Linked DNA regions of Homo sapiens: all the other regions are linked to region 1. The links are contacts of gene promoters, found by promoter capture Hi-C in human tissues and cell types (Jung and others, 2019). All regions are on one chromosome and are shown on one strand. Each heading gives the region's core, a stretch centred on a gene start or on the middle of the fragment in contact. The rest is flanking DNA. Distances are from core to core; before and after follow the strand shown. Region 1 holds the start of MTMR2 (myotubularin related protein 2). Region 2 overlaps CCDC82 (coiled-coil domain containing 82). Region 3 overlaps MAML2 (mastermind like transcriptional coactivator 2). Region 4 overlaps MAML2 (mastermind like transcriptional coactivator 2).

Region 1 (4,426 bases), core at 1,135-3,634:
TTCCAGAGGAGAGTAATGAAAGCTGGCATTCTCTTATGGAAAATAGGAATCATACTTATATTTTTGTCCAGAGAGGATTAGGCTAATCTACTATATCACAATTCTCTCGAGGAGTACTTAATTTTCTCAAATTTGTCAGTAACATAATTTTTTATAGAGAAGTTCATATACATATATAATCTTTATACTTGCTGGGCTTTCTGTTTTAGGAAATAAATATGTTCAAGTGGCACCGTTAGGTATATTAGTTTGTAATAATAAAGGACACTTATTTCGTGTAATTGCAAAAATCCAAAACAAAGGTTATTTGCAAAGGAATTATCTTTAAAATTAATATCAATGCATTCATCTTAGTATTGTCATTAAAATTTTAAAAATGACAATGTTAGAGTTCCAAGGGACCTTACAGATTTTCTAGATCAAGCTTCTTATTTTAAAAGATGAGAAAACTGTAGACTAGAAAGTCTAAATGAAAAGACCAAAGAGCTAGCTCAGCCAGAGACTTCAGCATGGGAGCTTCCTAACTTCCAGTACTTCCTTCTTTCTAACATACTGTGCTGCTTCATGTGGTTCTAACTTCTCTGCCTTGGATGAGAGTACTGGTTGCCTCTTATGCTATTCTGAGGCATAGTTGTCATTTGTAACTTTCCCATAAAATTCGAATTTTCCAACCTGTTTTCTGAATGAATTACACAACTGAACATGTTAATCCTCAGCTTTCCAAATTTCAAAGCAATAAATACAGAATTCAAAAAATACTTGATTCAAACGTGCAATATATATAATCAAACTGCAAAGAAAAATCCTCCTTTCCTGGATAATTCAGGCTACAAATTCGAAAAAAAAAAAACCATTTAGTGAGCACCTATCACATGCTGAGACTATGTTAAGTGCTGGAGATATGAAGATGATTAAGATTGCCCTCAAGTATAATAGCTTATAACCTGGTAGAAAAGGCACTTTAAGCCAACAATTATAGTGTGCTTATTAAAGACTCTGAAAAACGACTGTGCAGGGAGCTATGAGTGCATATGGCAATGTAGAATGACGGGATCAGACAGTGGTTCCCCAGTGAGGTGCTGAACATCAACAGGAAAAAAGGCAATAACTACCCATATTTAGCAGAATCCAAAATGAATTATAATAGAGCCACTTCAACTGATTGAAGGAGAAAATGAAAATTGTGTGTTTTCACACAGCAGTTATCGAATCACTCTCTAATAACAATTAGACTATTATTCAGTGGAAAAGAACCAGATTTCATCGTGGCTGCATAAAAAGCAAATACAGGTCTTATATTATTTTTTAAAAAATTTTTAAATCATTATTTTAAAATCAAAGAAAAAGACTGCATCCAAAACGCGTCTAGTTAATATTCATAAAAGCTCTCTGCAAAGCTGCATAAAGTCCTCCTCAAAATTCCAGGATAAAATTCCCATCTGTTACAAGAGAAATGACAACGTGGAGAACCAGTAGCCCAAGAAGGAAGAAAACTACCACTCATTTTGTTTTCTTAAACCTATCACTGGGGATAAAAACCACTCAGATTCCTTGATACTGACTTTCAGCTGGAAGATTTAGAAAAGAGAAGCACAGGAGACATTTTTATTTACATATTTAAGCAAAAAGGGAGGCGAGAAGAAAATCAGAGTGTAGAGAAAAGCATGAAAGAAATTAAGAAGGTGAAGCCATGAAAAGAGAGAAAAGGGCTGGGCAAGAACCCAAAAACCAAAGACATAAGAAGGGGTGGAGGAGGAAAGACTGACTTTAGGATGGTTTTGGAAAAAGTGACAGAGAAAGACAGGAAATGTGGGGAAAAGAATGGGGGCGGGGGGAACTGTCTTAAAAAAGGTTTGAGAGGGAATGAAAGACAGGAGAAAGTAATTAACTGGGACCACCTCCATCGGGGAGAAAACGAGATCGGAATATGAAAGGTAGAGGAATCGATAAAGAAGCAGCGAGTTTTAACCTCCTTTTCCTCAGCCTCCACGCCCCAGGGAGGGAGGCAGAAGTGGTTCCCAAGTCCCGGGGAAGGAATTCCGGCGTAGCCTTCAGAAACCAGAATCCGCGAATTGGGGCAACAATCCAGCAGGTCCCCGGCCCCTCTCCATCCCCTTCGGACGCTGGGCGGGGCCCTGGGCGTCCTGGTTACCTGGACAAGGAGTCCACGCTGGGCGGCCGAGCCGCCGCCGGCTGGGAGCCAAGACTCTCGCAGCTCGAGCTCTTCTCCATCGCGCGGCAGGGGCAGCACAGGGAAAGGCTGAAGCAGTCTTCGCGGCTACAGGGCGGGAGAAGCGGAGGGCGGAGTGCTACGGACCGGGGCCGCAGTCAGGCCAGCGCCGGCCCGGGAGGGAGACCGGAAGCGGCCATGTTCCCCCAGAGTGCACCGCGCCTGTAGGCTGCTGGGCAGCGGGAAGACCCCACTGCGCAGCTCAGACGCCGGCATCGACTCTCCGTGCTGGCTGTGTCCGGCCGCGCGACATCTGGTCTTGGGGAAAGGGAGGTGGCGGCTCCCAGGGTGAGGGGGTCTGGTGAAGCGGGAGGGATGAAGGACCAGACCCTTATGGAAGGAGGAGAAATCCTAGGTGTAAGAGGAATGAGGGAACACTAAACATGAGGGTCTCAGGAAGGCGATAAGGACCTGAGGCCAGGAGGATGATTTAGACAGGAATGTGGGGGTCAAGGAAAACAAGAGGACCGGATAATGAGAGAAAAGTGAGAAAGAGGTATGGGAGAGGGATTGGGGAGGATCTGATATACATGCAAAAAGAATTATATACTACTGGATGCGGTGGTGTTGGATTACCCAAGTAGAAGACAAACTTTCACCGATTTTTCCCTGCCCTTTCAAATTCCCGTGCCTAGCAGGAAGGGAGTGTGGAGGAATAGAACTGTGATAAGAGAACAGGAACTGGGTAAAGGGGAAATGCTTCTGCTAGGATTTTTCTGTTAGGATACAGGAAAGCCATAAGGACACCATAAAGGGATTTTTCTGATTGAGATTGAATCCTAATCATCTCATGTATGGGGTGTAAAATTATGCAAAGATTATTCCTGTAAAAAAAAAATCAGACCATCCTTAAAAAACTTCCTTGCTAGGATAAATTGAATTATATTGATTTAAACTAGATTTAATTTATAATGTACAACTGATGTCTTTTAAAAAACCTTATAGTTGCAGTGCAGTATTAACTTGCAAGTACATTCCCAAGAAGAACAACCTAGCTTAGTTATGTTCAGTGTAAGGTAGAATAGTTACTGATGAGTATGTGTTTAAGCACAAAAGGCTTAGCCTTTTTTGAGTTTGGCGAGGACAGACAGCGACCGATTGTTTTTATTTCCATAATTTTTAAGATACCTTAACTGGACTCTGTAGGCAAAGGGAGTAGGTAGTCAAAAACATTTTTTAACAAGCTTAAATATCTATCATGACTCATAGAAGAATTTCCTTATTTCTTCACCATCTCTACCTGCCTTCCAAAATGCTGACTCACTGTCAGCTACTTTGACTTAAATTTCCTTAGTGAAGGCTGATGAACCCTTGAATGGGAGACCTATGTACTTTCTTCCACCCAGTTCATTCGTAGCACTTTGTTAATAGAACCCTCGAAACCTTCTGCCTGATGTAACAATATGTGTATGGTTCTATCTAGTGATTAATAAAGAACAGTGTAGTAAAAGTGTAGAGACTTTGGAACCAGACAGATCTTCATCGGAATCCCGGTTCTGTCTCTACACTTGCTCTGTGCTGTGGTTAAGTTGTTTCACATCTCTAAAATGGGAATAAAATGGGAATAAAAATATCTACGTAATAGGTTGTTTTTCTCTGTGCAGAGTCGGTTGCACAGTACGGTCTCACTAAGTAGATTTATTATTACTTGTTTTTCCACTGAACTTACTGCTTGACTTCTAACCTGACTGGTAAAATGGTAACTTCTCAGAGTGAAAACACAAGCAAAGAATATCAGCTGGAAATTAATTAGTGAACTCTAATTAATTAATGAACTCTAAGAAAATGAAAAAACATGGTTAACTTGGGACCTCACCAAAAGTTATTAATTTTTCAATTTATAATCTGGGCTGTTTTTTCTCAAACTATCTGCAAGAAGGAACAGTGTTTTGTTTTTAATTTTCAAACCATCACCAACCAAAACTTTTTTAAAATATAAGAAAAATTAATCACAGTTGGTTCCATATCCTCAGATTCAACCAACCACAGATTGAAAAATTTGTAAAAATTGTAAAAAACAAAATAATACAAATAGAAGACAATACAGTATAACAACTATTTACATAACATTTACATTGTATTAGATATTATAAGTAATCTAGAGTTGATTTAAAGTATACAGGAGGGTATGCATAGGTTATATGTAGACACTAATGCCATTTTATTTAAGAGACTTGAGCATCTTTAGCTTTTACT
Region 2 (4,426 bases), core at 929-3,428, 450 kb after region 1:
TAGAATATAGAATGTTAGAAGTAACAGGGAGAAAACCCTTACAAATCATATAGTACATCCTCTGCTATTAAAGATCATAAAATAGATAACTGGTACATGAAACAAAATGTGGCAAATCTTATAAATTAAAAAGATAAATTATAAATTCTTCAAATTGGTAGAATTAAGCAATCTTAAAGCAAAGAAAGATGCCAAACACTATCTAGACCAGTGTTTCCCAAACAATGTGTTATGGAAATCAAGCAGGTAACAGGTGTTACCTGTTTACATAAACAGAGCTTCACAGAGTAAAACACAAATTTAGGAAATACTGCATTCCATACCACCCTTTGAATATTTATAACATAAATTCACATATAATGCTTGGGAAAAGTCTTCCAGTAAAGAAACCAGCTTACAACCCCTGATTCTCAAATTTCTTTGACCATGGAACTCTCTTTTCTGACATAACAACACCGTGTGAGACAATCTTCTCATTTTAAAAGATGGGCTAAGCCCTGGAGATGTTCTGAAGTTATTCATCATTTGGAACCACTTAATTATTGGATAGATATAGTTAATGTGAAGGATTAAAACAATAATAACTTTTAGAAGATGTGAGAAATAATAAGCTGATTATTTAACAAAGACATGCCAATATTTTAGAAGATTATTCAGTCTGGATTTTAAAATCCTGAGAGGTTTGCTGCCCCCAACCCCCAAGCAGAGATTCAAAAACAAACTGTGTACCTTATATTGCTCTTTCCAACGACTTCTAGATACCAAGCTCTCTAGACGAGGCTGAACAAAGCGGTTATCCAAATAATGAAGAGATGTTAGCATATCTTTTGCATATGATTTTTGCCTTGTGCCATCTGTTCAGGGGATAAACAACAAAAAAAATCATTTTGTTAATTAGAAATATTTAAACTATTTAATACTTAAAAATTTCTTCCCAACTTGGTTGGAAGCATTTTAAATTAGGAAAAAAAATATTTAAAAAATCATTCCATCAGAACATTAAGGAAAAACAGGGTAGGCCGGGCACGGTGCCTCATGCCTGTAATCCCAGCACTTTGGGAGGCCGAGGTGGGTGCATTACGAGGTCAGGAGATCGAGACCATCCTGGCTAACACGGTGAAACCCCATCTCTACTAAAAATACAAAAAATTAGCCAGGCGTGGTAGCGGGCACCTGTAGTCCCAGCTACTCGGGAGGCTGAGGCAGGAGAATGGTGTGAACCCGGGAGGGGGAGCTTATAGTGAGCTGAGATCGCACCACTGTACTCCAGCCTGGGTGATAGAGTGAGACTCCGTCTCAAAAAGTTCCCTTTGTAAGCATCAAGCTTTAACATTACTTTCTGATAACAAAAAAAGTCAGATGAAAAAGCTTATCAAATTATCTTTTATTCTCTTATACAAAACTGACATGAATTAGCCCCTGAATTCCAGATAAAGTTCAAACTTCTGAATAGGCTTTCAAGGCCGTCTACAATTGACTCCATTCTACTGATCCCATGGTAACTCCTTGTGTCAACAAATCAGAATACTCTTTTCTAGCTAGGCGTTTTCCTCATTCTTCTTTAGCATGCTACACTCATTACTGCCTTTCTGATTTGGCTCATAGTATATTCTCTATATACATCTGTCATCGTATGAATTTAAGCTTTATTTTCTTGCCTTATTTGAAGTTTTATTAATTAATTTAACTAATAAATTTATCATGTTTCTTTAAATAATCACAAATTCAAACACCTTACCATAGCTTACAAAGCCCTTCTGTCCTCAGCCTACTCCTCTGAGCTCCTCTCTTTTCCCTCTCTCCTGTCTCATTCCACTTCAGCCACAAAGGCCTTCTAGTTGTTCTTGAACACACCAAACTTACTCTTTCCTAAAGGCCTTAGCACCTCCTTTGCCCTCTGCTAAGCAAGTAATCCACGTATTACTTGCTCCCTTTGCTTCATTCAGGTTTCTGTTTAAAAGCTACCCCAAGAGGCCTTTTTTGACTAATCTAACTAGCAGATAACATAAACTTTACCTTCCCTTATTCTCAATCTTCTTACCCTATTTTATTTTTTTGCAAGAACTAATCACCACTGAAATCGTATTATATTTTGTTTACTCATTTATTGTCTGTCTCTCCCATTAGACTATAAGTAACATGAGTGCAGGAATCTAATATGCCTTAAGTCACTGTCACATCCCCAGCCCTCAAATAATGCCTAGCTTATAGTAGACATTCAATAAATATTTGTTCAATATATTGTAAATGAAATCTTATTTGGCAATTAGTTATTCAACACAATATATTTATAGTCTATTAAATGCCAGATTCTGTGCTAGATGCAAGAGAAATGGGGATATATATATATAAATATAAATATATATATAAATATAAATATATATAAACATATATAAATATAAATAAATATATAAAAATATATATATACATATATATTTATATATATAAATATATAAATATACGTATATTTATATATATATTTATAAATTTGCTCCCACACTATGATAAGGGAAGAAAGCAAAAATACATTTTCAATACAACATGAAAAGTGCATATAAATGAGTACTATGAGTATTACCATACTCAGAATGATGGCGGCACAAATGAGAATGATAAATATTATGTGAATGGGTCATAGATAGATTCATAGTACAAATGTTTTTACACTCACCTAAAACATCTGGGACAAAAAGGGATTCTATTCTAAGAAGAAACAGCATGGACAAAGGCACAAAAGCAGAAAACAGCATGGAACTTTTAATGAAATTCAGAGCTCAGAGAGGCTGGGTTTGGCACATGGGTATTAAGACACTCTGCTGTTTTAGGTGTTATCCTGTCAAATTCACTGTTAACTCCCTAAGGGAAAGGACCTGTCACAAACTTACCTTCCACATATCTCAGATAATGAACACTAACAAGCATTTTACATGAATGGAGTTTTGATGTAGTTGATCCTACAGGGAAAACATTGGAAGGTCTTACAAATGATCCTCATTGGTTTTGTTTAATCTACATAGTTTTAAAAGTGAGGTTGTTTTAAAATTGGAAAAAGAAATAAAAACCAATTGTTTCATTCATAGTATTAACTTACCATATAATGTTCCCAGAAAAGATTCATCTAAAGCGTTGATCAGAAGAGCCTTCACAACTCTTTCAAAATGAGTATAGTGGTCACTAAAAGAATCTGAAATTAATTTCAAATAAATATTAGAACAGAGCAGACAAAATAATTTCTTGAATACAATAGGTTCCATTCTCCACTGCTAAGAAATTAAAACTATAGATAGCACAAACAGCTTAATCATCCTAATTTTATAGCTTCCTCGATGACTTGTTTAGTCACGGAGCAAATCTCCATTTTCCAAACTTACTGGCTTCCAATCCAAAGTGTCTACTTGTAATTTCAAATCTTTACTTCCCAAACTTAAGAAAACTGTTCAGAGAATATTAAAATAAGTTTAAAAAATAAAAATTATCCCTTGCACACCTATATTTAATTATCAATTTGACACTTAGAGTGACAGAACAAGAGAGAAAACCTCCAAAGACAGATTAATATGTCTTATTCTGTAAAACGCGTTACATATGAAATTGTCCAGGGAACTGCTATCTTAGCCAGAACCCCAATGGCTACAAAAACTTCATTTCCCTTTTCATGCTGCCCCAGATTTAGGATTTTCTACATCAATTTAGAAAACTTGTCTATTTCCTTCCCCATACCACATATTTAAGCCCACTTCCTCGCTAACCAAATCTCACACATGACATCATCTGTTGTGACAGGCCAGGCAGTGGTTAAGAGAGAAGATTCCTACTATTCTCATTACTTTTGGATCAGAGTTTACTATGACTGTGGAAATGTTCTCTATCAACCACGACCCATTCCTTGATCCAACAGTCACTGTAGAATACATGCCCTGCTCAGGGCACCTGTGAAGACATATTAAGGGCAGACTGAGTATTTCGAGAAATATAGAAGATGTCTGACAAGGGATTAAAGCAAAATAAGACCTATCATTAGCAACCATGGATAGATTTTGACTCTCCTTCCACTTGAAGTAAAAAGAAAGATGGGATTCAACATGGAAAACCCTCTTCATTTATATTTTAGTTACTCAAAGGGCTGTATAACTCTCTTTCAGACTTTAGGGTACATTTTAGTATGCATTCTTTTCTAAGGAGACACCTATAGAAGTGCTAAAGAGACAAAAATAAAGTAATACTAAAAATAAATGACAATAGCAGATCATTTGGCCATTAGCCTTTAGATGGCCTATGATCAAAGGCAATAATCATGGCCTTTAATGAATATAATATTTTCTTAAAAATCAGTACGGCATAATTGAAAAATGAAATAATACTTCATTTTGTTACACAGGTAAACTCATGTCATAAGGGTCTGTTGTACTGATTATTTCATCACCCA
Region 3 (4,426 bases), core at 576-3,075, 360 kb after region 1:
CTGCTAAAACCCTTCTGTGGGAACTTTTTTTTTTTTTTTTCCATTCTCCAGGGCAGTGATTCTCAAGCTAGATACACAACAGAATCATCTGGAGGACTTGTTAAAACAGAATGCTAAGCCCCATCCCCAGTCTCCAATTCTGTGGATCTGGGGCAGAGTCCAGTAATTTGCATGTGTGATGCCGCTGCTGCTGCTGTTCTTGGAAGCACACCTTGAGAACCACTGCCTGGGGAACAGCTTAGCTGCTATGAGAATCTGATTCTGTGTTCATATTCCGTATCACAGATAGCTCTTGGCTTTTCAATTGTGGTTTCTTTTTTTAATGTCTTACTAAGGGGGAAAAAAAGGAACGCCACTTTATATAAACCTGACCTTTTGGTAAGCCTGGGTAGTAACTTCCCATGTGGAGTAAATTAATCTCTTTCATGCATGCCTCGTGCTCTGGAAAAAGTAAAACAGATTGTGTTAGACATTTACCAAGTACTTTTTCTGTTGGTGGTCACTGCCCTAAGCCTATCAGAACTGGTTTCTACCCTTAAGAAGCTTACAATGTAGTAAGGCGGACATCCCAACAAACCAGACATTGGAGTTCATTGTGTGAGGTGCTATGATGGATTATAAGACATTATGATTGACTGAGTATTATGAAGGGGTGAAGCAAACTCAAGCTGGCAAATTAGGGAGGAGGTAGATCACACAGGCTTTCCTAATGGGATTACTTATGACTCATTGAGTAGTGAAAGATGAATAGGACTTTACTAAACAGAAACTGGAAGGGCTTTCTGGGCTAAGGGAACAGCACAGAAGCATCAAATACACTTTACCTTTCTAGGGCTGCCAGTAGTTTAATTCAGCAATACCACATCACAAAGGTCTTTGTGTGCTTTGCTAATGAGTTTGAACTTTATCATAAAAGCATTTTACAAAGATCACACTGGCAGCTGCATTTTGGAAGGGATTTGCCTAGAGGTAGGATAACTGCGGGGGGTATGTCTATAGCAATAAAAGTGAGAAAATATGAGATCTGAAGGAGCTAACATTGTGGCAGTGGCAGTGGGTATAAAGGAGAAGGGAGGACTAGAAGAGATATTTAAGATGCAAACAATGTAGGAACTGGGTGATTATAGAACTGAAAAGTGAGTGAGAGGGAGGAATCCATGAGAACTCACATATTTCTGGTTAGGATAAAAGACTGATTGACTGACATGAAGACTACAAGAGAAAAAAACAGACTTGGAGTTGAAACTTCAGTTTAGGACACTGAAACTGAATGATGTGTCATTCAAGTGGAAAGGCCATTAGGCAGTTAGATATGTAGGCTTAGAGCACAGGAGAAAGGTCTTAAAACCCTGGGCTTATGGGACGTTACCACGGAGACTGCACAGAGTGAGAAGATCCATTTTAAAGCTGATGATGAATAATATTTTCGTTATAAGGAGAGAAGCAATGTTAGGGGTGTCTTCCCATTGCTGGAGTGGGTCATTTGCAGTATGCAGTGCATAAACTCACAGGCTGTCCTTATGATGACCTTTTGTTCATTCTTACATTCAGTATACAGATGAACAAAGGAAGTATTTTATGTCTTGTAAATTACAAGGGACTATGCAGTATGTAAGGGAAGATACAGGAGAGTAAGGGAAGGAGAAAGAGGGTGACTAACAAGCTTCTCAGAGATTAGCCAAGAACTATGGCATTGAATCTAGGTCTCTCCTGTCCTCAATTTGACACTCTCCACTCCCCTGACATGTTTTGTATTAAAATATATTTTTCTTTTTATGAACATGTCATACCTATGGCTCACCTGTGTCCTTGCTAACCTACAGGTTTGGACAATCTGGAATTGGCAGCATGCATGACTGTGGAGCTTTAAAGCCACCCTCCTGAGAGAAGAGCAGCTGACTCATGTACCTCACCATGCAGATGAGGGTGTGTTATAACCCACAGTGTGTCTGTGTCCCTGGATGAACTGAGCACTTTATAATGGAGTTTTTCTGCATCTCAAAAAGAAGTCACAGATTAAATGGTAACTGCAAGAGCTCATTTCTCTATTTGAGTGAGTGCTTTATCAAAAAAATATTTTATTCCTGCTGCTTTACCACAGGGTCAATTCAAGTCTAAATGAATCTGGCATGTATAAAATATATTTTTATATAGCTCCATATAGAGATATAGCTCTACACAGCCATTAACAGACTCACACACAATCATTCTTTTATTCCAGGTGTGAACTGCTATGCTATTTCACCCAGTTCAAACACAGGTCATTGGCTTTCAAACTAATTTTGGAAAGCAGACACTGTGTAGTTGGTAGGTGGAATAAAATGAAAACAAAAAATTAATATGCATGGCAGTTTAACTAGCTGTGTATCTCTCATGGAAAGGGGGTAATAGTCTAAAATTATTTACTCATTTTTTTTTAAAGTCTTTAAAAGAAGGCAATGAATTGCCAGTAATTTCCCCACCTTAACTCATGGTAATTTGTTTCCTGCTGGGTGAAAACGCAGGGATCTTGAAACTGTTAATGAACTTTCTTTCTCCTGATCTGTACAATGTCAAATTCATTTCTTTTTTTCTTACTTCAGGTTTTACTATTCTGTTTTGTTTGTTCCATTTTTGTATTTTTTCCTGAGGTCAGGGATGATTCTATGGAAGCATGAAAATTTGTAGTTGAAAGGGATCTTAGAACTTCAGCAAGATTTGTGATAGATGGTCAAGTGGGTCTGGGCTCGCACCCTCCCTAAGGTGAAAGACTCACTGCCTTACCCCACAGCTATTTCACTACTTACAGACTACCACACAATAGCCAGGGTGCTGCCCTATTTGCAACATGAACTGGAACATTATATTGGGACATAATGATGAGTGGTAGCTAAAAGTCCTTTCCCTCTGGTGTTGTTATTTGGTTAAATTGATTTACATAATGTTATTCTGTGGTATAAACCTTTCTCATTTATCTCATATATATCCCATTTTAAGCTATAAGCTCCCAGAGGGGTAGGTACTTCATCATTACTTCTGTACTCAAGTATTTTGCATATCTTTGATACAAAGTAAGAACAATGTATATGTATATCAGTTTAACTCTCAGATGAATGAACTAATAAAACTTGTAACAGTATTTTCCAATGTAGTGAGTACATTAAGCATCATTAATATTAAAATGCAAATTAATGCATTATTTGCAAGTTTTCAAATCATGTGTACTTAAGAATTTTCTTTTAAAATGTATCAAAAGACTGAACATTCAAGCTGATTATCATAAAAAGTGTATGTATGGGGGTAATATTCAAAATATTTAACAACCCAGAAGAACATGGGAGCTGTAATTCCCACAAATCACCATGTGAAGGTGATTCCAGGGAAGAGTCAGTCAACAGAGAATAGCCACTGATGGAAGGGAAGTGGGGTCTGGTGGCAGGTGATGGATAGATCACTAAACATTTGTCCAAGAGAGTGCTAGTGTTGCCGCTAGGGGTGAATATTTCTGTTGGGGTCCAGGTCTGCTCTGGCTGGGGAGGTGTGGGGAAGCAAGCAGGAATGGGGCTGCAAAAGGCTGGCTAGGGTAGCCCACAGTGGTATCTGCCCAGGAATCCCTGGGGTCTGGGCAGGGTAGTGGGAGGCACTGGTTGAGGGAAAAGGAATAATAGTTTTTTTCCCTGTTTGTCAGCTGAGTTAGCAGCCCTGGTTTTGAGAAATATTAAAATATGCCTTTGATTTTTGGGGATATCAATGAGTTTTGCAATGAAGTAGAGGGGATCACCAGTTTAAGACTTACTGATCAGTATGGGCAACATGGCAAAATCCCACCTCTACAAAAAAATTAAAAATTTGCTGGATGTGGCAGCATGCACCTGTAATCCCAGCTACTCAGGAGGCAGAAGTGGGAGGATCACTGGAGCCAGGGAGGTCAAAGCTACAGTGGGCTCTGATTGTGCCACTGTACTCCAGCGTGGGTGGCAGAGCAAGACCTGTCTCAAAACAAAACAAAAAACAACAAAAACAAAAAAGACCTGATCTACTGAGCAAACAAACTACCATCACAAATAAATCAGAACTTGAAAAATAATGACTGTAGGCCAGGCGCGGTGGCTCATGCCTGTAATCCCAGCACTTTGGGAGGCCGAGGCAGGCGGATCACGAGGTCAGGAGATTGAGACTATCCTGGCTAACATGGTGAAACCCCATCTCTACTAAAAATACAAAAAATTAGCTGGGCGTGGTGGCGGGCCCCTGTAGTCCAAGCTACTCGGGAGGCTGAGGCAGGAGAATGGCGTGAACCCGGGAGACGGAGCTTTTAGTGAGCGGAGATCAAGTCACTGCACTCCAACCTGGGCGACAGAGCAAGACTCCATCTCAAAAAAAAAATAATAATAATAATAATAATAATGACTGCATGTATGTACTTGGCATGATCATTATGAAGGCA
Region 4 (4,426 bases), core at 698-3,197, 300 kb after region 1:
TACTAAATGATTCCAGGCAAGCTTGATATTACATAGGTAAATACATTTGCTTTCTGCGTCGAGGTACTTGTACTAATTCCAAGTTGCTTTGAAAAATGCACTAGAAAAAACGTTTGGTGTGCCTTTTGAATTTTTCCACAGCAGTGTCAGTGACAGAAGGCAGCTGTAACGCAGCTGTAACCCTGGCTTTGACTTGGTTTAAAGGCTGATATTTGACTCCAACTCCAAAAACAATCATCATTCTTATAATTCAATCCTAAGGCACCATGCATCCTCGGTGAACCCCACTTAATTGTCATCTTTAATAGGGGCACTACTTGGAAATCCAGTTTTCAGCATGTCTTTTTTTATCCTCAGCGTACACAGCATGAAATGCATTTTTATCTTGATGCAGAGCAAGTGACTTACTTGGGTCAACTGACTACTATTTTAAGGCCAGAATTTCTTGAATAAATAAAGTATAAAAACTCAGAGATTTTTATATTATTTCCACAAAATTACTTTTGTGAGGTAACTTCCTGCCCCATTGGTCTCATTTTAAAATGGAGCATATTTTATGGGAATGTATAATACTGACACTTTTTCTTTTTGTTTTTTAGTTTATTTGAGGTCTTCACATAGAAGAGTATTTATGTATGCCAAAAAATTCAAATCTCAAAATTTTCCCTCCAATTCCTGACTGGGTAGGTTGCCAAATAAAATGTAAAAGCCCAGTCAAATTTGAATTTCAGATAAATAACAAATAAGTTTTTAAAAGTTATAAGTATGTCCCATGGAATATTTGAAACATACTTGTACTGAAAGATAATTCATTGTTTATCTGAAATTCAAATTTAACTGAGCATTTTATATTTTTATTTGCTAAATCTGGCAACCCTATATCTGGGGGCACTTGAATTATGATCAGAAGTACATTATCTCCAGATTGTAGGTCTGCAAAATTCCCAAAGGACCATTCTTTTCTTGGGTATGTGCAAAAGTGGAGACTGTCCCACCACGCCATTCCCAAAGGCCCCTGGGGCCATCCGGCTCCGGGTCTAATGGATCTAGACAGTGGAGATTAACCAGTCCCTTCTTTAAAGTATGTTAAAAAGCTTTAAAACAACATAAATAAGGCCCTTCACATACTGGGCACTCAATGTATTTAGGTTGAAATCTTTGATGTTCATTAGTGCCAGTCAAGATGAGGACAGAGATAAAATATGACATCTTAGAAACCATTCCTGTACATGTCTCACCTTTCAATCTAAGCACTTTCGGATTCTTCAAAAACCAGCTATAATTCCACCTTGTTCAAGAGGCCTTCCCAGATCACCTCGGGCATGAGTTCTTTGCCACCTCAACTCTCCAGCATTTATCGTTTATACAGTTCATTTGACGTTTAACATATTTTGCTTAATATGTTAACCATCTTTTCATTTATACATTCTTTTAGGAAAAACATAGATAGTAGAAGCCTTGCACCGTGATTTACAGCATGAGCCTAGGAGTCAGACCAATTTTGGTTTCCAATGCTGCCCTGTCCTGTCTGAGCTTTGTAACCCTGAACAAACATCTTTTCTGAGTCTCAGTTCATTATTATTATTATTTTGAGACAGGGTCTCACTCTGTCATGTAGGCTGGAGTGCAGTGGCACAAGCTCGGCTCACTGCAACTCCACCCTCCTGGGTTCAAGTGGTTCTCATGCCTCAGCCTCCTGAGCATTTGGGATTACAGATACCTGCCACGATACCCAGCTAATTTTTGTATGTTTAGTAGAGATGGGGTTTCATCATGTTGGTCAGGCTGGTCTCGAACTCCTGACCTTGTGATCTGCCCACCTCGGCCTCCCAAAGTGCTGAGATTACAGGTGTGAGCCAACATACTCAGCCATCAGTTTATTATTTTTAATCCCTCAGTAAAATGAGACTATTTCATCATGTTGTATTAAATGAGTTGATGCATGTATAGTGTTAACTCTTGGGAAACACAAAGACACTAAATGGTGGCATGTTGTTATCATTGCCATGATCTTTATATTAATATTACTATCTTCTTTTAATCTCCCACAGTGTCCATGCGTTATCAGGCCCTACGTGAATTGATCAAAGGATCTTTGCCTGAGAGTTGACAGAGGCTCCAAATTCCTTGCTGTCTAGAGAAGGGGGTGGGGGAACACTGCCTGTAAACAAATGAGTGACCCTCCTTCACTCTCTTAGGGTACAGATTTCATTCTCTTATTTCTCTTTCTCTGTGCTCCTTTAAACCTGCAGATTTAAGCCACTGCCTTGTGCTCTGCTTGGGATTATGTGAGAAGCAGGAAAATTTCAACTGCCTTAGAGATTTGTTTCCCTAGTGGCACCGGACATGGTGAGCCCTCCTGGGACTCAGAGTCAGCACATGCTTCCTGCCTTACTCTTTATTGACTATTTGCTGCCTCTTTATTTTTTTCTAAGTCATCAGTGAGGAAGTTGCATAACTTAAAAGCTAAGCTAAGTGGGAGTCTGTTTACTGCAATCTGGAGTCATACATATTATTTATCTTCTTTGCAAGTTGTTACAAAATGCAATGTAAAGTGTTCTTATACATGCAGAATTTTTTTTGTCATCCTTGGGTATGCATGAGCTTGAGTTTTTAACATTTTATTTCTGGTTGTATTATAGGTAATAGAGTAACTTGGAAAAAAGTACAATTTCCTTAACAGTCAGACATAGATTTAAAAAAATACAAGTTTCAAATACATCCTCTGAAACCTCTACTGGATTTTTCAAAATAGCAAATTCAAAATCTTTTATATAAAAAGTGAAAAAAAAAGCATCATCAAACTGAAAGGAGGATGCCTTTCTGGGTTGTTCATTCATCAGGATAATATCTGTAAAACTCTAATCTCTTGGAAGACTCTGGCTAAAACAAATTCATTTTTGGATCAGTACCCAGTGCCTTTTTCATAACAGGTATTCAATGGGCATTTGTTGAACCAACTAATGAGAAAGTATTTATTCAACAAGTATTTATTGAGCACTGAGGAGATGTATTACTATAAAATAAGTTCACAGTATATAGTGTTATTAATACTATGGTCATTAATTAATAATAATTTCACCACCACAACACTGTAATGCAGCCTCCAGAAAGCCAGTGACATAAACTGGAAGTTTGGGTGACAGAGTTTACAGCTTCTGATTATTTAGACTTAAAGCAATTAGCCTTGCTGTTCCCACTGTTAACCACAGAGAAGGACATGTTCCCAAGTTTCCACCTATTCACTTCTTGATTAATAACTTTAAAGTCATTCCAAACCTATCAAGACTCAGAGATAGCGCTGGGCCTTTCCTGTAGTGTGGGGTTTGTCTTCAGGAACAAAATCCCACTTCTGCAGCCTGCAGTGTGACCCATCTGTTTTGTATCCCCTGTCATTTTGGGAACAGTGTAACACTGTGGAGGCCAGGCTATACCCGAGGTTAGAGACCCCACCTTTAAAATTATTACTCTGGGGAAAGCAGGAAATATTGTTTCAATCATAAGGATAAAATATGGACAACTATGAACCACTTAAGAAGTTTCATAGCAGTTGCCTTCAACCACAAAACCAAAATCAGTATTGAGCTCTTTGCTTCTGCACAGTATAGGGAAGATGTGAGTGGCAGTTCAGTCAAGCTTTTTTTTTTTTTTTTTTTTTTACTGTTCTCTGGACCTGATTTTGCACTTGAAAATTTCCAAGCTCTCAGAGTACTTCAGTGTTAATAGAAAACAGCTAAAATGTTGCCACATTTGCAGATGTGGCAGATGTGAGCAGAAGAACAAGGTCAGCACACATAGGACCAGGTCTTGGTACAGCAGGAGCATGTGGAGTTTCCAGAACTGCTTTCAGGTGTTTCTACTCTGTACGGTTTTCATTCCCTATTTCCAATACATCATCCCCTGTGTTTCACCTCATTTCCTCCCAGTTTCCGTTTCTACTTTGTCATATATTAATTTGGACCTTTGTAATCTTTGGTTTCCTTCTAGTGGAATCTGGTGATTTTATTAAAACCAGACCAACGAGAAAATGTTTCCAGGTAAGTCTTCAGGCTGGCAGCCTCTCTTCCAATATCATCCCGGTCCATCAGCTGAGCCTGGTAGGTAATCCCACTGTTGCAGACTGGAGGCTTACAAATGCTGCTCAGGGATAGCACTATGCTTGAAACATACGCCTTGTGCTTTAGAAGCCATGAGTTCCATAAGCGCACGCTGAATATGTTTATTAAAGGACACGTGGTCCCATGGAATGTGGCGCTCAGCACTGCACAGCACTAGCAGTCACCCTGAACACTCACTGTTGTCAGTAGCACCATCCAGACTCTAGTGCAGACACCTCTCCATATCCCCTGCTTTGTGTCTTGGAAGCCCAAGGTGGCTTCTTTTGAGGCTGGATTGTGATGCTGCCCATATCAGAGAAGGACACTTC

What was found. Contacts are between HindIII fragments. The study calls those that stand out against the background at their distance.
Region 2: a contact is called between a fragment that was not itself captured here and the fragment with the promoter of MTMR2 in region 1, in 2 of the 25 tissues and cell types used here (heart right ventricle and hippocampus).
Region 3: a fragment that was not itself captured here is called in contact with the fragment with the promoter of MTMR2 in region 1 in 2 of the 25 tissues and cell types used here (aorta and mesenchymal stem cells).
Region 4: a contact is called between a fragment that was not itself captured here and the fragment with the promoter of MTMR2 in region 1, in 1 of the 25 tissues and cell types used here (bladder).

Annotation. Positions count from the first base shown.
Region 1 is chr11:95,921,723-95,926,148 of GRCh38, forward strand. It overlaps MTMR2 (myotubularin related protein 2), which reads right to left and starts at 2,385. Exons shown (of 15, transcript NM_016156.6): 1 at 2,153-2,385. The coding sequence starts at 2,232. RefSeq lists enhancers at 2,363-2,412, 2,473-2,602. The HindIII fragment of the contact is 5,565 bases long and covers 1,920-4,426 here.
Region 2 is chr11:96,370,284-96,374,709 of GRCh38, forward strand. It overlaps CCDC82 (coiled-coil domain containing 82), which reads right to left. Exons shown (of 10, transcript NM_024725.4): 6 at 3,092-3,184; 7 at 730-854. Among named protein-coding and RNA genes, the nearest start is that of CCDC82, 17 kb to the right of the region's middle. The HindIII fragment of the contact is 3,940 bases long and covers 209-4,148 here.
Region 3 is chr11:96,277,894-96,282,319 of GRCh38, forward strand. All of the region lies in intron 1 of MAML2 (mastermind like transcriptional coactivator 2), which reads right to left. Among named protein-coding and RNA genes, the nearest start is that of MIR1260B, 61 kb to the right of the region's middle. RefSeq lists an enhancer at 1,829-1,888. The HindIII fragment of the contact is 6,915 bases long and covers 1-4,426 here.
Region 4 is chr11:96,218,053-96,222,478 of GRCh38, forward strand. The region is part of intron 1 of MAML2 (mastermind like transcriptional coactivator 2); the gene reads right to left. Among named protein-coding and RNA genes, the nearest start is that of MIR1260B, 120 kb to the right of the region's middle. The HindIII fragment of the contact is 4,299 bases long and covers 1-4,097 here.